4 separate regions of the Homo sapiens genome follow, and regions 2, 3 and 4 are each linked to region 1. The links are contacts of gene promoters, found by promoter capture Hi-C in human tissues and cell types (Jung and others, 2019). All regions are on one chromosome and are shown on one strand. The core of a region is centred on a gene start or on the middle of the fragment in contact, and the rest is flanking DNA. Distances in the headings are between cores, read along the strand shown.

Evidence for each region. Contacts are between HindIII fragments. The study calls those that stand out against the background at their distance.
Region 2: a contact is called between a fragment that was not itself captured here and the fragment with the promoter of TEAD1 in region 1, in 2 of the 25 tissues and cell types used here (neural progenitor cells and thymus).
Region 3: a fragment that was not itself captured here is called in contact with the fragment with the promoter of TEAD1 in region 1 in 16 of the 25 tissues and cell types used here (H1 embryonic stem cells, IMR-90 fibroblasts, bladder and 13 more).
Region 4: a fragment that was not itself captured here is called in contact with the fragment with the promoter of TEAD1 in region 1 in 2 of the 25 tissues and cell types used here (bladder and liver).

The regions. Positions count from the first base shown.
Region 1 is chr11:12,673,065-12,675,799 of GRCh38, reverse strand. TEAD1 (TEA domain transcription factor 1) reads right to left here and starts at 1,379. Exons shown (of 13, transcript NM_021961.6): 1 at 966-1,379; 2 at 239-391. RefSeq lists an enhancer at 1-552 and a silencer at 1,388-1,687. The HindIII fragment of the contact is 23,361 bases long and covers 1-2,735 here.
Region 2 is chr11:12,621,916-12,624,650 of GRCh38, reverse strand. All of the region lies in intron 1 of LOC105376556 (a long non-coding RNA gene), which reads right to left. Among named protein-coding and RNA genes, the nearest start is that of TEAD1, 51 kb to the left of the region's middle. The HindIII fragment of the contact is 6,544 bases long and covers 1-2,735 here.
Region 3 is chr11:12,714,817-12,717,551 of GRCh38, reverse strand. The region is part of intron 2 of TEAD1 (TEA domain transcription factor 1); the gene reads right to left. Among named protein-coding and RNA genes, the nearest start is that of TEAD1, 42 kb to the right of the region's middle. RefSeq lists an enhancer at 1,701-2,541. The HindIII fragment of the contact is 6,546 bases long and covers 1-2,735 here.
Region 4 is chr11:12,638,173-12,640,907 of GRCh38, reverse strand. It overlaps LOC105376556 (a long non-coding RNA gene), which reads right to left. Exons shown (of 5, transcript XR_931039.2): 3 at 1,470-1,607; 4 at 371-510. Among named protein-coding and RNA genes, the nearest start is that of TEAD1, 35 kb to the left of the region's middle. The HindIII fragment of the contact is 5,333 bases long and covers 1-2,735 here.

The DNA.
Region 1 (2,735 bases), core at 130-2,629:
TGAGTCCTCATTGTTTTCGACTCATTAAAAATATTGCTTTGATTTTTTAAAAATACAAAAGTTATTTTTTTAAAAAGAAGAAAAGTCACAGAAGTTAAACTTTCTTTAAAGCGGGACTCTGGACTTTTGAAAACAAGTGTTGCTGTTACGAACAAAGACTAGAAGTGTACCCAGATTTTCTCCCCCCCGGGGATCATTTCTCTTCCAATCAACAAACAAATCCCCCAGTATTTCCTACCGAAAGGGAAGGGAAGTTTTCCAGGGAGAGTCTCCTCCTGGGTTTGGTGGTAACTGCGACTCAGTCTTTTTTGGACACAATGTTTCTGCTGACTCCTGAAAATTTTCCACTTGAATGTGCAATGAAGCGGCGGCGGCAGCGGCAGCAACAGTCCTGGAGAAGCGGCAAAGACGACCGTGCCCTTTTTCATCTTTGAGAAGAAGGAGCGAACCCCCCGCCAGCGGCACAAGTCTGCGCAGACCCGGGCCGGCCTCGGGGGTACCCGGCGCCGGGGGGCGGCGGCGAAAGCAGGGGGGTGCAGGCCGGCTCCGGGCTCCGAGGCGGCGGCTCTGCCCGCCCGCGCTCGCTCCGAACTTCTGGCTCCCCAGCGCACCCCGTCCAAGGCGCCCGAGGGTGTGTGCGTGTGTGCGCGTGCAGGCGGCGGGAGAGGGGGCGCGCGGGGGGCGCGGCGCGGCCGGCCGGGGGCCGCCTGTTGCCGCGCGGGCTCCCAGCGCGCGGCCCAACTTGGCGTCCTGGCAAGTCGCGCGGCGGCGCCCGGCCGCTCACCTCGGAGGGGGCGCGGGGAGGCGGGTGTGGGGGCCCGGCCGCGGCCCTCCGCGTGCCCGCCCGCCGTCGCACACAAAGCAGAGCCCGCAAAGAAAGAGCGGCCCGCGAGGGACGCGCCGCCGGCCCCCCGCTGCCCCGTGCGCCCCCCGCACCCCAGCATCCGCCCCGCGCGCCAACTTACCTCGGCCCAGGGAGCCACCGCAGCGCCCGGCGAGTCCGAGGCAAACTTCGGCGCCGCTTCCCCCGCCCTCTGCTCGGTGCCCGGCTCCCTCCCCGGCTCCCGGTCCCTGGGCCCGGCCACCCCACCCCTGCCTAGCACCGCTCCTGCCCCGGGGCCGGCTGGCGCGCTGGGCTGCTGCCCGCGCTCCGGGCAAAGGTGGAGGGGTGGGGGGGCGTCACTGCATGGCCTGTGCCTGGACGCGGCCGCCCCGGGCCCGGGCCCCGCCGCGCGGAATGGCCCGCAGGGTGGAAGCGAGTCTGCAAAGTGCTTGGTGGGCGCCCGCGGCGGGCGGCGGGGCCGCGGCGGCGGCAGCAGAGGCTCGGCTCGGCTCAGGCGGCGCGGCGCGGCGCGAGCGATGCTAAGAATGTTCGGAATGAGGACAGGAATGAAATGAACGCCAGGACCGAACTCGCTCCGGAGGGGTGGGGCCTCGGTGACGTCATGCGGCCTGCCGCCCGGGGCTGGAGGCGGGGCCTGCCGCCGCCGGTGACGTCATGGGGAATCGGGGCGGACCGGCGCGGCTGCTTCGCCGTTGGGGCGCGGGCTTTCGGCAGCTGGGCGGAGTCTCGCGCCCACGGGGGAGCGTGGCTCGCGCGGGAGCCGCCCTCCGTCTCCCGGCGCGGGCTCCGGGCTTTGTCCCGAGCCGGGGCGGGGCGGGGCGGGGCGGACGGGAGCTGCGCGGCTTGGAAGTCCCTGCGCTCGCGCGAAGAACTCTGGAAGCCTGGGTTTCTTCCAGGGGGCAGGCGCCGAGGCGGGAGTTGCGCGCGACGCGCCTACCGTGCCTCAGTTTCCCTAGTCCGGGACGCGGAAGCGCGGGTGACTGCGTTGAGTGCTCCCGGACTCGCGGAAGTCTGCAAGTGTAGGGTAGAGAAGTTGCCTTTCTGGTGATGCAGATTGTTGCTCTCGAGCGCGGTGGACGCCGTCTCCGGGCCAGATTCCCAGCCTGCCATTTCTTCTCTTCCCTTTCACTTTTATAAAAGTTCACAGCTCTCACTCAAGTCGAAATCTGTCTTACGGTTGGGAAAGGAAAACCTTTAGCTTAGCAAAGAAGGATAATTACAGAGTTCGTAATAAACCTGCCCTGCTAGCAAGGTCTTCTCCAAGTCAGTTAAAAAACTAAGTTCACTCATCTCTGCCGGTTGTACTTTTCAAAAGTAACTTCCTAAACTTTGAAATGCTGCATCCGGCGACTTTAAGTTAGCCCTTTCATTATTGAGAAACTTCATTTCATTATTAAAGGAATCATTTTAACCCTGCCATTGGAGGTAGTGACGCAAAAGTGACATAGACGCAGTCGGTAAATCAGAAAACGGGTAAAATCGACCCACTGGGGACAGAACCGTCTAAAGTTTCGGGTGATTGTTATAATTATTTAACAAACTGCAAAGCAGTTCCCGCACAGTGGACCTCATTCGTTCTAGGCACTTGGCTCTCTTTTCCAGCTGAGGCCTCAGGATTAAATAACAACATATTTTGTGCCCGAGGAATCCCTATATCCCTATATATGGGTAACTGAGGAGACTAGACTGTGACTGAGTGCAACACATTTCTACAAAACATAACTTTTACTAATACATTGTTTTCCTTTTTTTTAATTTTTTTTTTATTTTATTTTTGGAGACAGGATCTTGCTCTGTCACCTAGGCTAGAATGCAATGGTGCGATCTGGGCTCGCTGCAGCCTCGACTCCCTGGAATCAAGCCATCCTCCCTTTTCAGCCTCCCGAATAGC
Region 2 (2,735 bases), core at 162-2,661, 51 kb after region 1:
TAATTAAAATACTGCTGGGATTTTGATAAAGCTTGTGTTGAATCTATAAATCATTTTGAGTAGTGTTAGCATGTTAACAATATTATATCTTTTTATCCATGAACATGAGATTTCTTTCATTTATTTCCTTCTTTTATTTTCCTTAACAATGTTTTGTACTTTTCAGTGTACAAGACTTCTTTTTTAAAATTTATTCCTAAGTATGCTATCTATGAATAGAAGTAGTTCTACTTCTTTCTTTTAAATCTGATGATTTTTTATTTCTTTTTCTTGCCTAGTGCCTTGACTAGATTCTCCACTACAATGCTGATTAGATAGAAGGGATGAGATAGACATTCTGGTCTTTTTCCTGACCTTAGGGGCAAAGCTATCAGCTTTCACCATTAAGTATGATGATAGTTGTGGGTTTTTCTTAAATGCTCTTTATCAGATCAAAGAAATTCCCTTCTATTCCTGCCTTCTTCAGTGTTCTTATGAAAGGTTGTTAGATTTTGTCAACGCTTTCTCTGCATCTATTGGCAAAGTAATGTGGATTTGTCCTTTAATCTATTAATGTGATTTAGTACATTGATTTTTTTTCATGAGCTGAACCAACCTTGCATTCCTGGGATTAATCACACTTTGTCATGGTGTATGATCCTTTTTATATGCTGCTGGATTTGGTTTGCTAGTATCTTGTTGAAGATATTTGTATATATATTCATAAGGGATATAGCTTTCTGTAGTTTTCTTGTGAGTTGTCTGGCTTTGGTATCAGGGTAATTCTGGCTCCAAATAATGAGTTAGGAAGTGTTTCCTTCTGTTACTGATGAATTGCCTATGAATACCTTCAAATGTGTCAAGTTCTGCTGCATGCATTTCTGGGCTCTGTTGTTAAGTACATATATGCTTATAATTGTTTTGATGGAGTGACCCTTTTATCATTATAAAATGTCCTTTTTTTCTCCAGTAACAATTTTTAACTTAGTCTCTTTTGTCTATACTGCAACCACTCCAGCTCTTTTGTTTACTGTTTTCATGGTACACATATTTCCATCCTTTAAACCTATTTGTGACTTTGATTCTAAAATGTACCTTTTGTAGACAACATACATTTGAATCATGCACCCTCCCATCATAATTCTAGTCTTTGTCTTTTAATTAGAGTGTTTAATCAGTTTGTATTTAATATAATAACTGGTAAGATTTACATCTGCCATTTGTTACTTGTTTTCTATATGTATTATGTCTTCTTTGTTTCTTCATTCATTCCCCCATTACTGCCTTCTTTTGTGTAAAATGGATATTACTTAGTGGGCCATTTTAGTTGACCATTTTACTTTTTTTTTTTTAGTGGTTACCCTGGGTGTTACAATTAACATCTTTTTTTTTTTTTTTTTTTTTTTGAGACGGAGTCTCACTCTGTCCCCCAGGTTGGAGTGCAATGGCACAATCTCAACTCACTGCAAGCTCCACCTCCTGGGCTCATGCTGTTCTCCTGCCTCAGCCTCCTGAGTAGCTGGGACTACAGGCACACACCACCATGCCCGGCTAATTTTTTTGTATTTTTAGTAGAGTTGGGGTTTCACCATGTTAGCCAGGATGGTCTCGATCTCCTGACCTCATGATCTGCCTGCCTCGGCCTCCCAAAGTGCTGGGATTACAGGCATGAGCCACAGAGCCCAGCCACAATTAACATCTTATAACAATCTAATTTGCATTAATACAAAGTTGATTACAACAATATATAAAACTTTCCTCTTATATAGCTCTAGTATCTACCCTCTTATTTGTGCTGTTATTTTCATATAAATTACCTCATTATACATTGCATGGTCTGATACATGACTGGTATACAGATTCATAATTATTGCTTTATGTAGTTGTCTCTTAAATAATATAGTAGAAAACAGTTATAAATAAAAGATATATTTACATTGTCTTTTATATTTAGTTTTTACCAGAGACTTATATTTCTTTATGTGGACTCAAGTTATTGTCTAGGGTCCTTTCATTTAGGCAGGAAGAACTCCATTCTCTGTTTTTGTTTATATTGGAATGACCTAATTTCTCTTTCATTTTTAAAGGACAGTTTTGCTAGATACAGAGCTTTTGAGTCTTTCAGGTCTTTGAATATGCCATCCACTGCCTCCCAGATTCCATAGTTCCTGATGAGAAATAAGTTAATCTTAATGAAGACCACTTGTGCTGTATTGCTTCTCTCTCGCTGTTTTTAAGATTCTCTGTTTGTCTTTCGACAGTTTGATTATGATGTTTCTACGTATGAAACTCTTTGAGTTTACCCTATTGGAATTTGTTGAGCTTCTTGGAGGTGTAGATTCACGTTTTTTAAAATCAAATTTGGGAAGTTTTTGCCCATAGTTTCTTCAAATATTATTTTTCCCCTTTCTTTCCTCTCTTTCTGGGACTCTCATGAATATATTGATACACTTGATTGTGTCCCATAGGTCTCTGAGGCTCTTTTTCTTCTTTTTTTTTGTTCCTCGGTCTGAATAGATAGTCAAGTGCATAAAAATGACAGAATGGGAGTGAAACAACCTAGAGGTTTGTTAAAATTGTTTGTGAAATTGTTGTTTCATTGTTTGTGAAAATTCTTCCTCTAGTGAATGTGTCCACAGACAGGCAAGGCCCTCATAATGCCTGCTTTGAACATGGTGGGTTCAAAGCAAACAGATGCAGAAACAGTTCACTCTTTCTTCACTTTCCCTGAGACATCTCCTTAAATTCCTTTTCTC
Region 3 (2,735 bases), core at 120-2,619, 42 kb before region 1:
ACTTTGACATAACCTAATAACCACCCATCTCCCAGCATGCGGCAAGAATGAATGCTACAGGGCACACATGCAAACTTGATTCTCCATCCAGGAGTGATTTCTGTGGAGGTGTAATTCCACTGTCCACCTTACACAGCACATCTTCTATCCATAAAACACAAAGCTTCCATCAGTCAAGACACTCAGGAATGAAGGGCCCTGCCTCCTGACTCATGTTTCAGGTGTAGCTAGACCCTACCAGTGACAGAAATTCAAATCCAATTGATCCTTTCACTTAAAACACACAATACCAAGCACACACACAACTGTAGGCAGAAAGTAGCATACCAGAGGCATACAACTGCCCCACATTCAATTCTGCTGGCTACTTATTAGCCCCGAATCACTCTGGATATTATAGTCTATGATCAGTATAACTACATTCATTACATTCCATGGCCAGACTTGACTGTTTATGGCTCATCCTCTGAAGATCTACAAATCCATGCAGGAACCTTTCTCTGTACAGCAAACTATGGTATGTGAGTTGGTACCCACATTGTGGGCAGCTGAGAGGCCAAGCCCACTACTTCGGATCCCAGCTCAGTCAGTCACCTGGGAGCAGCAGAAGCTGTGACCTCAGGGCGGGAAGCCATTCAGCGCCTATGTCGGGAACGCAGAGCCAGGCTTCTGATCTGTAATGTTCTCTGCTGATGACTTAGAAGAGGGCTGGCAAACCATGGCTCACAGGCCAAATCTGGTCTGCCATCTGTTTTTGTATGGCCCATGAAGGAAGAATGGTTTTTACATTCCTTAATGGTTGAAAAACAAAGGAATAATAAACTACATGGAGTTCACATGTGTCCATAAATAAGATTTTACTGGAACATAGCCACATCCACTGGTTTTCATGTTGTCTATGGCTGCTTTCAAACCACAACAGCAGAGCTGAGAGGTGGTGGCAGAGACCAGGTGACCTGCAAAGTCAAAAATATTTGCTATCTGACCTATACCAGAAAAAGTTTTCTGACCCCTGACTAAGAAGCAAGTGCCAGGACACTGCTAAAAATGAGACCTCAAAAATCTAAACATTGTCTGGGGGGAAAATAAAAAGGATTACTTCTTGATCACAGGTTCAGGTCCAGGGATTCAGCAGCAATGACAGAGGTCCCTCAATGGAGGGGGGAGGGATGTCAGCAGAAAAAGGGTGCTCTCCAAGGGCTGCAGGAACCCCCCCGTGAACTCCTAGGAAGTCACACTCTCTGCTGCACTCCCTCGCAGACACCTACCTGTTCTAAGACAGATGAGGCTGGATTGGGGCACAGCGATTCTGCTTGTCCGGTGGTTCCAATGCAACAGAAAAGGAGGGCAGTGGAGAGAGTTGGCCGGAGTTTCCACCAGTGTTCAGACTGCTCCCCCTCCCATCCCTCGGCCGGAAGCCGACAGACAAAGAGCCCGCGCAGGACAGGAAGCCCATCCTAAGTCACCAGGCTATGACCTCTCTGTGAGGTCTGTTCATGCAAAGGGGGCAAATGACAGTCTCAGTCTTGGGGGGAAGGTGGGGAGGGTGAGCTAGGAAATGATTCCTTGGCCAAGATTTTTACTGTAAAAAAATGAATTACGATTGTTCTTGTTGGTCTTTCCCCCATCTTCCATCGCCACCTGTTAATCTGGGAACCCCTAGAGGTGAGATTGCTAGATTCGGGAAATAAAAATGGTATGCCCCCTTAAATGTGAATGTCAGAAAAATGACATTCAAATTAATTTATTAGTATAAATTTTTCCCAAATATTGCTTACCTGAAATTTGAATCATGGGACATACACTGATTATCTGATATTCAAATTTAACTGGGCATCTTTTTTTTAATCTGATAAGCCCATCTACAACCCAAATCATTCAGGAAGTGACTCCCTGATCCCAACCCCTTCTGGCAAAGCCCCTGCAAGGTAGGTCTCCATGCCAGTAGGCCTGTCTCCAGCAGCCCCGTCTGCATCACGTGCAGCTCCCCAGAGAGACAGCCAGCCTGCTGCGGCTTCCAGAAACAAGCTTCCCCAGGAGCAGAACACCTGGGCCCCCCACCCAGGTGAAACGAAGGCAACCAGCCCTTGGCTAAAGAAAACTGCCCACAGCCTCTCCTTGCCCAGCCATCACCCGAGACCCATACCCTCTCCTCCTCCCCAGTCCCCAGGCTTTATCTGTTTCTCAGATCCCTCAAGGAGTCCTGCTCAACTAGAAAGGATCTCCTGTCCCTGATGCCTGTTCTGCTGGTTACACTGGGTCACGAGGCTTTTCCATCCCTGGGTTTTGTCTCTGGTGAAGGAATGGTCTCAGGGCATGGAATTTACAGGAATAAGGAATTTGGAGGAGAGGAGGGTGCTAAAATCATACTAAGTTAGATGGGTCCCAAACAGAAACTGGAAGCGGTGACTGAAGACCACTAAACTCCCCGACCCCATGGTATGCTCCATAAGGGTAGAGATTTTTGTGTTTTATTCATAGCTACATTCCTAGAGGGCAGTGCCTGACACATACTGACACTTGGTAGAGAACTGCGGAATTGTTATGGGCTGAATTGTGTCTCCCCCTCAAAAAAATCGTATGTTGAACCCCTAATCCCAAGTACCTCAGGATGTGACAGCATTTGGAGACATGGCCTTTTAAAGAGGTGATTAACAAGGTGGGCCCTAACCGAGTGTGACTGGTGTCCTTACAAGAGGAGACTGGGACATAGAGACACTAGGGACACACACAGA
Region 4 (2,735 bases), core at 60-2,559, 35 kb after region 1:
GGGGATGTTGTGGTGGGGGATATGGGGGGAATGTGGGAGTATGGTGGGGGGAGGTGGTGGGGGGGGTTATGTGGTGATGGGGGGATGGTGGTGGCTATTCTGGAAGTCTTACCCATAAAATAATCTTTAAAAAATGGAAATTTGCTCTGCAGCTATTCCTCCTCTCTAACTTAAAGCAATTTAATGATTCCCCATTGATTTTTAAAATGAAATCTAAAATTCCTATGCTGGCCAACCTATGTAATCTAAGCCTACATCTCCAGCCTCATTTTGAGCCAATTTCATTCTTAGTGTTCTCCCACTGGGAACAACAGTTCTCTCACAGTTCCTCAAACGTGGCAAACTCTGTTTTGCCTCAGGACCTACTCACTTCCTTTTCTTTACATGGCTCATTGCTACTCATTGTCCAGAATTCAGCTTTAGCATCAGTCTTCAGCAAAGCCCACTTTTTGCCTCTTGACTTGTATAGATCCAATGCTCCATTGAAACTGAGATCTTCCCTTTCCACACCTGTAATAATTTAATTATTTCAAGTTGTTTATTATTATTATTATTTTGGAGACAGGATCTTGCTCTGAGACCTGGGCAAGAGAGTGAGCAAGATGACAGCTCACTGCAGCCTTGACCTCTCAAGCTCAAGCGATCCTTCTACCTCAGCCTCCCTAGTAGCTGAAACCACAGGTGCAAGCCATGGTGCCCAACTAATTTTTAAATCATTTGTACACACTCCCTATGTTGATTAGGCTGGTCTTGAATTCCTGGGCTCAAGTGATCCTTCTGCCTCGGCCTCTCAAAGTGTTGGGATTACAGGCATGAGCCACTGTGCCCTGCCTTGTTTCTTATTTAATAACATCTACTTCCCTATTTGATTGTAAGCTCCCTGAGGGATAGTTTTCTATTGTGCATTTCCAAGGAGCTCAACAAAGACCTGACTGATAGCCTGATGGATCCACCATAGAGCCTTTACACAGGGTGAACAATGCCGGATTATCCTGCGGTATGAAGTGGGGAAGAACACAATGGTTGTTAGTAGTTATTTTTTATTTTTCTTCTCTTGAGAATTTATGCAATTATTCTAAAAAATTACGTTTTGGTCAAGGTGTATAGATTCTTTTGGATCTACATTTGGAGGTATATATAGTTTGGCTGCCCAGATCAGGCATCCTTAACTCACAGAGGCAGTGGTAGGTGTTGCTTCTGGTACCTCTGATGCCAATGGGGAAGGTCACTCTTCCCTCCCTTACCTAGATCTTTCTCTGAAATCAAATGAGACATCCTAGATGACAGGAACTTGTGAAGGCCAACACAGAATATGCTGACTCAGATCTCCTCCCTATCACCTCCTTTCTTTTGTCTCATGTAGAATTATGAAAATAATATCTGTCTTGTTTATTGGCACAAGTAGATACTTAATAAATTCCTCTTTTCTTTTCCAGTACACAGTTAATTGTTTTAGTTCAGTTACATACCTGTGAGCTTCTAAAGTTCCTTCCATTGTTTTCTAGCTCTTGTCTAGTTATCTCTGGAAAACTCCTCAATAACAATATCACAGCCCCCCAAATGGCCATACTCGTGCCTTCGGTGTGTAAATATTGCTGGTGTTAGACCTGTATTGAGGAAGAGAGAACAGGGCATTCAGAAGAGAAATCACATGTAATTTAATTGCATTACTCTCTGAGTACCTTGAGATGTCCACAAGTCCCTTTTAGAAGCCCTGCAGATATAGTCAACTAGTTTTTCCTTCTTTTCTAAATAAACCCAATATGTGGTTTTTGAATGAATGAATAAATGAACAATATCTGCTTATCCTCAAGGACCAGCAAAATAAGTAAAAATTTCCTTATTAACTTGTGTTGCTTTCCTGTTTTGTTTAATCGTCGCAACTGTGGCCACAGAATACCTCACAATATTCAGTGGCAAATGTACAGCATGTTAGCTTCAGTATGGATTTCTCTCTTTGCTGGATTTTCAGGGTATAGGGAGGATTCACCTCTATATGTACCATTGTTTCTGACTATGGGAAACAAGGTCTGTGTTCCAAGCAGATTGGATCATATAAAGTGGGATGTAACTACTCTGAATTTCAAAACTACCTACACAACACTCAGACATCAGAGAAGGGTAATTCTGGGGGGCTTTCTGACTTTTACTTGACCTTCCTGTTCTATTTACATTTTAAATTGTCCATTTAATGAAATGTAAAAACCAACTCCACTATTGTGAGTCTAGTTTTCTGTCACCCATGGTTCACATCGAACCTCAGTTATTTGAATCACATTGTCACAGTAATTAGCCCAGAGCATGAAATTACTAAATGAATGAGTGAATGAATGCCACACACAGTACAGTTGAAGGGGTTGGAAATTTCGTACTGGAGAATATTCAGATAAAACTTGATGGTTTCTTCAAATATTTGAAAGACAGTTTTTTGAAAGATTCAAAAGGTTCATGAGGCAGGACTAGGCAGAAGCAAGACCAATGCACAAAACTTTGTTCAGTCCGACAAACATAGCATGCCTACTGGGCACCATGTTTGCCCTGTGGGATATGGAATCGTTAAACAGTATAATCCTGCTCTGAGGCTTTGGGGTGGGTAGGGGCCTGTGGTAGGAATGGATTTCTATAGAGGGAACAATCTTACTGGAAATCAGGGGCTGGGAATTTGGGAATTAGTTTAATTGTAACTTAAGTTGTATGTTGATGTGGAGAGACTGCAGGGGGTAACTAATGGCATT